Regions from separate parts of the Homo sapiens genome. Here region 2 is linked to region 1. The links are contacts of gene promoters, found by promoter capture Hi-C in blood cells and fetal thymus (Javierre and others, 2016). All regions are on one chromosome and are shown on one strand. Each heading gives the region's core, a stretch centred on a gene start or on the middle of the fragment in contact. The rest is flanking DNA. Distances are from core to core; before and after follow the strand shown. Region 1 holds the start of PPP1R16B (protein phosphatase 1 regulatory subunit 16B). Region 2 holds the start of RALGAPB (Ral GTPase activating protein non-catalytic subunit beta).

What was found. The method cuts DNA at HindIII sites, captures the fragments that hold promoters and counts their contacts. A CHiCAGO score of 5 or more calls a contact.
Region 2: a fragment that was not itself captured here is called in contact with the fragment with the promoter of PPP1R16B in region 1 in 1 of 17 cell types (total CD4 T cells); the score reaches 5.0 in total CD4 T cells.

The regions. Positions count from the first base shown.
Region 1 is chr20:38,803,426-38,808,094 of GRCh38, reverse strand. PPP1R16B (protein phosphatase 1 regulatory subunit 16B) reads right to left here and starts at 2,398. Exons shown (of 11, transcript NM_015568.4): 1 at 2,303-2,398. RefSeq lists silencers at 1,349-1,698, 1,759-1,978, 2,169-2,548 and enhancers at 942-1,780, 2,809-3,078, 2,361-3,222, 3,223-4,085. The HindIII fragment of the contact is 16,329 bases long and covers 856-4,669 here.
Region 2 is chr20:38,470,644-38,475,948 of GRCh38, reverse strand. RALGAPB (Ral GTPase activating protein non-catalytic subunit beta) reads right to left here and starts at 3,106. Exons shown (of 30, transcript NM_020336.4): 1 at 2,880-3,106. RefSeq lists a silencer at 2,826-3,025 and an enhancer at 3,316-3,385. The HindIII fragment of the contact is 1,518 bases long and covers 1,191-2,708 here.

The DNA of each region.
Region 1 (4,669 bases), core at 1,149-3,648:
AGGTTCTGGCTTTAAGGAAAAACCACCTGCCTACATCAGTATCCTCTTAGCCCTGTGGCTCAAGCTCCTGAAATGACTTAACAGCTAGATTAGAATTTAACCTCCACTCCGTCAATTACCAGGGAGAGCAAAGTCTGAGTGGGCACAGGGCCTTGCCTACCGTGTCTTTCTAGGCCATGGATGATCTGGAGAGCACAGATGGCACGGGGCCCTTGACACATGAACCACAGAGCCACTAATGAGTGTCACGGTGGTAGGAGACCAAAAGAGGGGAAAGAAGACATTACAGAGGCTGGGAAGAGCTGGAGCCAGGAAGGTTCCAGGACAGGGGAACACTGTTAGGTAGACCCCAGTAGACAAGTAGGCACAGAGTTGACAGTCCAGGGTGGCCTGGTTGACATCTTGCCCCCAGCATCCTGGGGACTCAGCCAGGAAGATGGGATTTGGGTGACAGGTGGGAGAGAAGGGCATGGGAGATTTGTGTGGGAAGGGCCGTGTGAGCAGGCAGCCGGCTGGAAGGATTTGCTGGCCCCCACCGGCCTCCTGCAAGCTGGCTTTTTATGACAGAGCTGGGGGAGGAAGATGTGGAAACTCCCCCAGCCCCTGCAGAACCACCCACCAGGGCTCCACTTCTGCACCTGTCTAAGAGAGACACGCCCCACTCAAAGCCAATCCCGAGGGCGGCCAGTATTGGCCAAGGAGTGTTCATCCTCCCGCTCTGCTGCACCCAGCCTCTCCCTCATCTCCCCACAGCCTGGCGGCTGTTAGCCCCGTATCTTAGAGGCAGTTGAGACTCCAGAAGCCAAGTACCTTGCCCACGAGTAGACAGCTAGTCGCTGGCTGGGCTAAGAAGCTTTATTACCAGCCTTGGAGGAGGCCTCCTAGATGGACGGTTTTTCTCCGGTGCTTCACCAGCCGCAGGAAATGGCAGGGTACACAGGGAAGTACCCCTGCGGACTGAGGCCGCCATCGGCAGGCCCTTTCCAGGGAGAGCCCTGCGGGAAAGGGCGCCTGTACCTCCGGGCCCCGGGTCCTCCACAGAGGGTGATTCAGAGGCGGCACCTGGTGTCCAGAGCCGCGGAGAGCTGGGGGGCTCTTCTGACAGTGAAAACAGGGGCCCTTTATGTGAAATGCAATCACATGGGCGCGCAGGCAGCTCGGTTTTCGGTTCCTAGAAGCGCTGATGAAGCCACATCCCTCTCCCTCCGCTCCTGAGGTGCCCGGGAGCACCGGGACCCAGGCCTGGCGCGCGGCAGCGGCGCAGCCCTGGGGTCTCAGGAGGGCCAGATTCAAAGCTCTCCCAGGCTCAATTATCCTCCAAGGGCTGGGAGCTGCATCATCAGCATCTCCAGTGAAGCTGGAGGCCGGGCCGGGGTGGGGGAGCGGAGGAAGGGAGTCTACATGGGGGAAGGAGGAGGGCAGCGAGCGCCTGCCTCCCGGCTCTCCACCCGGGGCGGTCTGGGCAGCTCAGCCTGGGCACTCCGGGTGACCTTGGGGAGACCCCTCTGGGCGACCTCTCAGGGGCGGCTGCACGTCTCCGCCCATCCTCGGCGCCCGGGGGCGCTCCTCTGGGCCGGAATCGATGAGCCGGAGTCGCCCAGAGGGGAGCGCTCCTGGCGCGGGGGACCCAGCCGCCGGCGCACGGGGCCCTGGGAGAGGCCGGGCGCGCCCCTCCCGGGGAACTACCACTCGCGGGGTCTCCCCGGGCTGGCTGGTGCTGTCAGCCGGATCCTGAGGCGGGGCGGGTCTGCAGGTGGAGGCGCCTGCCTTGGGGATCTTTCCCGCCCGGGCAGGAGCGCTCTCTGCGCCCTGCCGCTGCCCGCCAGGACCAAGCCCCGCCACGCGAGGGGGCGGCACCACCATGCCCGGCCGGGAGAGTGCGCGGGGGGGGGTTGTTTGGTGTCCGCTGTGGCTCCCGCCGCCCGGCATTGCACCCCCGGCAGACGGCGGCCCCATGAGTCCAGAACAGACCGAGGACCCCACCTCCCCGCCCCAAGATCGGTCTACGACGGCCGCAGCCAACAACCTGCCAATGCGCCCCCTCCCCTGGCCTCGTCAAGGAATTGCGAGGCCGGGGAGAACGCCCCCATTCCAGCCCGACTCCCGGACCTAGCGCTCTCGGTACCCGTCTTTCCAGAGTCCCCACACTCCCATTTATCTCAAGCTATCGTCCCTTGGCCAAAGCGCCCCGGCCCCCAGCTAGGTGATAGCAGGCTGGGACCACCTCCCCGCCCCATCCTCATCCCCCGCCCTGCGAAGCCGCAGAGCGCAAGGAGGGTGGTGGCGCCGCCGGGGAACTCACCCGCTCTCCCGAGCCCTGCCCCGGGCGGCTCCCGACCCCGGCTGTGTCTGTGGGTCCCCGAGCCGCAGCTGCTCCAGCGGCGACAGAGCTGGCTCTGCTCGGCCGCGAGCCTCCGCGCCGCCTCTCGGCTCCTCCCCCAAGGCGGGGCCTGAGCTCCTGGGACTGGGGTGGGCGCGCTCAACCCCATCCGGCTTGGGAGGCAGCGCGGGACAGGGTCCCGGCGCTCTCGGGTGGGGACCCCTCTTCTGAGCTGCAGGAAGTTGAAACCGGTTGGGACGTGGCCAGGCTTCGGAATAGTTTTCCTAACGCTGCCCCCTCCTCCAAAATAGTTTTCCTAACCCCCACCCCGACCATGGAAAGAGGGAAGCCAAGGACGGTATCCCTGCTCCCATTTGACAGACGGGAATCCTGAAGCCCAGAGAGGAGTGGTAACCTGCTCAAGGTCACACAGAATGAATGCCAGGGCCAGGAACTCAGGGTTCCTAGCTTGAAGGCCTGCGCGGCCTGAGTCTGAAGGCTTCCCAGGAGGTCCAGGGGCCGGCCCTGGCCTTGCGCTGGGGACAGATCTGTGGGGCCAGGTCCCCCAGCTGCTGGGGCCGAGACATGGGGGCTGTGGCCTGCGGTGTGGACTCGCATCATTTCCTCTTTCTGGAAAGAAGGGAGGTGAAGCGCTGGAGGAAGGAAGTGGTCGTACCTCTGCTGACGTCTGACGCCCTTTGAGATGTGCAGGATGAAGATAGGGGCTGCTTCCCTGAGATTTAACGCTAAAAATAAAAAGCAAAACATACCCGGTGGCTTCTGTCACCTCATTCAAGCCTCTTTCTGGGGCTGAAGGCCTCTGCACTCTGTGCACCAGCCTTTCTTTACAACACAATGGGTTTAACTATTTAAGTTGCTGAGAGTCACCCCCCACCATCACCACCCCAGGAAGAGAAAAGAAAGTTCATAAACAAAGCAGAGAAAACCTCCCCAAACATTCTCTGGAATCCACATTTGCTGAACCCTGGCCTTAGAACAATAGGTTTCTCTTCTCCACAAAGGCCTTGTTTCCTGAGCTTTCCCGGCCTACAGATGAGAGCCCTAGGCACCCCAGGGCCAGCCAGCTGGGGAAATTCAGAGTTTAAGTTTGGGGAGTTTGGGGATGGTACCCAGTTAATTTGATTCTCAGCTGTCATGTTTGAGGAACTCGCCCGAATCCTTTTTTTTTCACTGGCAATATTCTTTTGAGGCCACCAGCATCACCTGAGTTTAGTGATTTTCTGTTTGCTCAGTCACCTTTCTTGGGGGAGAGAAAATCTGTGGGTTGAACTTGTTCCAGGCCCCCAGGCCCTCTCCAGGAACTCTGTAAGCCCCCTTCATTGGCTCCCTGGCTCCCTCTCAGTTCATTAATAATCCAGTTGTGAATGACACTGTTTCAGGAAAAGCAATTAGACAGTAGAGCATGTGGGGAAGACTTAAAGCCATGTTTAAAATAACCCAAGGGAATCATTGTTCTCCGAAGAATGTTTCCATTGATTGATAATGAAGAGCCATGGGCTGAGAGGATGGGAACCCATCTCTCCAAGGCTTGTGTGGCACTTGGGGCCTGTGTTCCTAAAATAAGGCCTTTGGAGGGAGGGGGCTCCCAACTCCAATGTCATGCTGTTCATTCACCTCTCACACTGTGTTCGGTATCAAAAGTTAAAGTAAATTCAGAATAAGTTGGGGGACTCACAAGTCCTGATTTCAAAACTTACTAGGAAACTTCAGTCATCAAGGCAGGGTGGTACGGGTATAAGGATGGGCATACAGACCAATGGAATAAAACTGAGAGTCCAGACAGAAGCCCTTACACTTACTGCCAATTGATTTTCAACAAGAGTGCCAAGACAATTTAATGGGGAAAGAATAGTGTTTTCAAAAAATGGTGCTGGGACAACTGGATATCCACATGCAAAAGAATGAATTTGGATCCCTGCTTCATACTATATGCAACATATAGATCTAAATGTAAGAGCTAAAACTATAAAACTCTCTGAAGAAAACATAAGCCTAAATCTTCATGACTTTGGATTAAACAGTAGTTGCTTAGATATTAGCACAAGCAACAAAAGAAAAAAAAATAGATAAATTAAAAACTTTTGTGCTTTCAGGGGTATCATCAAGAAAGTGAAAAGTTATGGCTGGGCCTGGTGGCTCACACCTATAATCCCAGCATTTTGGGAGGTGGAGATAGGAGGATTACTTGAGGCCAGGAGCTCAAGACCAGCCAGGGCAACATAGTGAAACTCTGTCTCTACAAATTCTTTTAAAATTAGGCAGACGTAGTGGTTCATGATTGTAGTCCTAGCTATTTAAGAGGATTGCTTTTGCCTAGGAGTTCAAGGC
Region 2 (5,305 bases), core at 700-3,199, 330 kb after region 1:
TCTATAACAATCCTTATAAAGAATATTTTATGGGCTGGGGACGGTGGCTAATGCCTGTAATCCCAGCACTTTGGGAGGACTAGGCAGGCAGATCACTTAAGGTCAGCAGTTCGACATGAACCTGGCCAACATGGCGAAACCCCCTCTCAACTAAAAATACAAAAAAATTAGCCAGGTGTGGTGGTGGGTGCCTGTAGTCCCAGCTACTCAGGAGGCTGAGGCAGGAGAATCGTTTGAACCCAGGAGGCGGAGGTTGTAGTGAGCTGAGATTGCGCCACTACACTCCAGCCTGGGGGACAGAGCGAGACTGCATCTCAAAAAAAAAAAAAAGAAAAAAAAAATTTTATGAAATGTGTTTTTAATTCAGTCTACATACTTTGTCATGTTTAATTGCTATACAAAAAAAAATCTTTATTGTCCAAAAACCTCCTCATAATGACCTTCACACACATATTCACTAACTTTTGCAAATCCTTACATGGTTTTAAGACCAACCAAGAACAAATCCAATCTGAATTATTGGTCTGCCTTCCTTTAAACTTGTAAATATGGCAAATGGGGCAATGGCAGTTCAGGCATTCTGCAATAAATATGTGCTAAATTTGTCAATTCCTGTGACAACATGATTTTACTCTTCATTAAGTACTTAACGTCCTCTCTCCTGGTGAACAGGACCAAACATTACCAATGGCAATCCCATCTGCTTGTATTTACCAAATACCAACAAGGCAGTGGCATTTAGTGGATGACAACTAAACACTTTTTTGGACAATGAAGTAGGGAACACATGCAAAGGTCTAACAGTAATAAAAAGACTTTCCCTACAGACATGATTGCGTCCGATTGTGATAGAATCAGACATTAAAAATCAAACAATGTTGATTGCACATGGTTAGTTACAGAGTGCCTTGCAATTGGTAAGAACTCAATGTGTGTGTTCAACTGCTGGACAAATTGCTGAACATAACTAGAATACTCACTCCTAAGCAAAAAGAACAAAACTCTATAAGCTGGGAACTACCAAACATCTTTTACAAAAATGGAAATAGAGAAGAATCTGTTCGCAACATGATCTATCTATGACATAAAAGGACCCAAACATTCCACTGAGTAAAAGCTTTGTGAGTCTGTATGTCAAAGCACTGGAAGGAATACAGAGATGAAGAAAACATAGTCCCTGCCCTAAAGCTTCTCATAATCTAGAAGTAGGGATAGAACTACAACTCAGAAAAATAACTGATAAGTTTCACTACGATGTTCCTAAAGAGCAAATTGGAAGGACTCAAGGTGGGTAGGGGTCAGGGACAGAGGTATCTTGAAGGGAATGCTTAAAGCTAATGCAGCCAGAGACAGGAAGAAAAGGGTATGTAGGCCTGGCACAGTGGCTCGCATCTGTAATCCCACCACTATGGCAGACCATAGTGGGTGGACTGCTTCAGCCCAGGAGTTTGAGACCAGCCTGGGCAACATGGAGAAACCCCATCTCTACAAAAAAAATTCAAAAATTAGCCAAGCGTGGTAGTCCCAGCTACTTGAGAGGCTGAGGTGGGAGGACTGCTTGAGCTCAGGAGGCGGAAGTTGCAGTGAGCCAAGATCATGCCACTGCATTCCAGCCTGGGCAACAGAGCAAGACTCTGTCTAAAAAAAAGAAAGAAAGAAAAGAAAAGGGTGTGTATATGCATATAGGAGAGAGCAGAAGTGTGTGCGTTTGGGTGGGATGGCCAGAACGTTCAGAGGATGGTCTAGGCAGACTTCCAGCATATGTAAAAACGACCCAGAGGTTACAGACGCTACACCTATAAGTACTGTATATTTAGGAAAATTGCAAACGAGCAGTTTGCATAAGATGCATACATTTTAAATGTTCCAGATGACTCAGAATCCCTGCAGAGAATTCCATCCCTAACAGTCTTTCACAAGGTGTAGTGGTCAGTCAACCTAAAGATCTCTGCGGGTGGAACCTGCAAGTTTAACAAGCTCCCAGACAATTCTCCTGCACACTTAAGCTGGAGAAAGAGAGATGCTTTTTGAGATGCAGAATTATCAAATTACATGCGGTTCCCAAACTTTGCTGCAAGCTGGAATCACTTGGGCATCTTTAAAAAAAAAATATTGAAGTCTGGCTTTCAACTCCAGACATTCTGATTGTTTTGGTCTGGGATGCCACATGGGCATCAGAAACCTTTACAATTTCCCCCAGGTGATTCTACAGTGTAGCAAAGTTGGAGAGCCACTGCCCTAATTGTTAAGCACTTGGGTCGGATGCTCCGGTTCAAATTACTAGCTATGTGACCTTGGGTAATTAAGTCACCCAACCACCCAGGGACTCAGTTGCCTCGTCAGTAAAATGGGGACAACAATCCTACCTCACAGGGTTGCTGTGAAGTTAGACGTGGAGAACGTAATGGCCTGGCATGATGCCTGGCGGATAAGAAGCGCTTAATGGGGGTTAGCTGTTTACTCCCATCATCAACTCTCCCTCATCAAAGTGTCACTGTGCAATGGGCAGCATCGTCCCCACTGGGCGGCAGCAACTTGCCTAACCTTTCTGCTGGACCAAATTCTTTGCGGGAGTTGTCTAGCTCCGCTCCAGACCCGCCCCCTCCCCCAGGTTGCCAGGAGAGAGCTTCGCCTGGCCGGGGTAGCTCCCAAGGATTAGACCGGGTTTACACAGACTCGACAGCAGCCGCCCACTCCAGGGCCAAGCTTTCCCCGCCCCCGTGGGTCTCCCAAAAATTTGCAGATGAGCTTCCAAAGGCCGGGCCCCTGGAGCACCCAGAGCCGAGAAACAAGCCTCAGCCGTCCCTTGACCGCCAGGTGGGGAAGAGAGGGAAGGAGAGGGGAGGGTCCGGCCGCGGCGGGGCCGGCTGCCCGGTTACCTGAGGCGACGGGCGGGGCCCGCATCGCCGGGGCGGGCGCCGCCGCCGGCCGTCCTCGGCCTTCCGCCTCACGCGACCCGCGCCATAGGGCTGGCGCTTTCACCGCCCTGGCCGGCCGTCCTCAGGCGGTCCGTCAGTCCACCCGTCAGCGACTCTCCCAGGGCGCCAAGGGACGACGAAGGCCACTCGAGCCAGCCGGCTGGGATCTGCTCAGGCAACTTCCGACTGCCAGGGGCGGCGGCGTCAAATAACTCCCCAGCCAAGTGGGCCACTGCGCGTGCGCGGTGCGCCTAATCAGAGCTTTCTACGGGGCTGAACCGGTGGCGTCAAATAATTCCCGAGACACAGAGCCGGAAGCTGCGCCTGCGCAGCTATCCCAGATCGCCGCGCGGGACGCATTGCGTTCCTCCCATTCCGGATCAAGTGGAGAGGGAGGAGTGAAGTGACGGATGCACCTACCTCATCGCGGCACAGAGGAGGCGCTCTACCTGCGTCCTTAGGAATCTTACGGCATCCACTCTACCTGCTTTCGGTGCAGACGGATAAGGGGCTTCTCTGCAAGATTCTGGCTCCCACCTAGGTTCTAGGAATTTCTCCCATCCCACCATTACAGCACTCTTCCTCTGAAATGATGCCCTTTGCTCGCCGCCGTCTTATTACACGGGCACAGCATTAATTATGAACAGTGCTCTATTCCAGGCCCGGTGTGGGTTACAAAGGTGAATCGAACATAAGATTTAGAGCCTCTCATTAAAGAGCTGAATCTGATCGAGATAAGACAGTAGTAATAATACTAAGAGATACTACTTCGAGCACCTGCCATGCGCTAGACATTTTGTAAACAGTACCACTTTCAATAATTTGCTTTCACTTCAACGAAGAAAATAATACCATTGGAGAGGTACAGCTTAAGTGCTTTGAGAATCTAAAGGAGGAAACTTGGACTGAGAAAGAAGAGGAGGGAGGGATGGTGGAATTCTTCACGGAGGACCTGGCCTTGAGACTGACCTTGGGTATTGAGAGAGGGAGGAGGGGTCAGGGTGTTGAGTAGAGGTGAAGGCACGGTTGTCTGAAAAGCAGAAGGGAGCAAAGAAGATTCTGACTCCTCACCTCAGTTAGAAGAGACTATGGAGGAATGAGTGATAAGGGAACTAGTATCCTCACAGAAAGGGTAAAACTGAAGAGTGTTTCCTCAAGACCACACCTCACCCCCCAGAAAAATAGCTACAGGAAGGAAGAGGGAAAAGGAGGGTAAGAATGTGCTAGGACAGGAACGAGGCTATGTCCAGGACACTGGATCCAAGCAATACATTTCAATTAAACACAGTGTGACAAATTATGTAGTTGGCTAACTCAAGATCTATTTCAACCACTCCCTTGCCTTTCTATACTACAGGGGCTGAAAAGCAAAGCACACAACTCTCAACTTTCTTTGCTGCTAAGGGTGGCAGTGAGACAAAGTCCTGGCCACTGAGATGTAGGCAGAAGTATCAAAGGAGACCTTCCCTTCCTTCTTCCCTTGGAGAAGTTTGTGTCCTTCACTTTTCCCCTGCTTCATGCTTGGAACTGGGTAACACCTGGGAGCACAGCAGCCTAGAGGCCATGAGGAGGGCTGTGCTGAGGAAGGTGGAGCAGAAAGACAGGAGCCTGTTTGTTTAAGTCATACTCAAGCAGCTACACAAACCCTGTACTACCTTCCTGTCTTATCGGGATGAGGGATCTTATATATACCAGAGTTTGTTGAGTTTTATGTTACTTGCAACCAGATGCATTCTAACACAATTAATACTGAACCCCTGTAACAGACAAGGGAGGGGTGACTAACTGGAAGAACAACGGGTGATGGGAATTGGAAAAGTGACAGGCACAGAGGATGGGAAAGCTGTCCCAAAGCCCTTGGGGAGATGATGAAAATACAGCTATCACCCTTCTAGTGGTTTCAATTCATTCCTGAAATTCTGCTTCTAAGTGGAAAGCTGTTAAATTTTTCCCATTAATTAAAATGGGCAAAATTGTGTTCAATTCCAGCCTAAGGCACCTAAATATTTTTAACAGAAAAAATATATTGATGCAACAGAAAATTATACAAACAAATAATTTTGCTTAAAATATGGTTTTTACATAACATGTAAGGCAGTAAGACTTACTGCTCTGGACAGAAAGACAAGATTTAATATTAGGTGCAAGTTGGTGGAGGAGAGATGCAAGTGAGTGGTTCTCTAAATGATGGTTTGTTTTTTTAAGACACAGGGCCTCGCTATGTTGCCCAGGCTGGCTTCAAACTCCCAGGCCCAAGCGATCCACCTGCCTCAGCCTCCCAAGTAGCTGGAACTAAAGGCACACATCACTGTGCCTGGCATAAAAGATATGTTTTTTCTGCACTCTTTGCTAATTTTTTAAAACTTTTGAAGTCTTCACTTAAACAA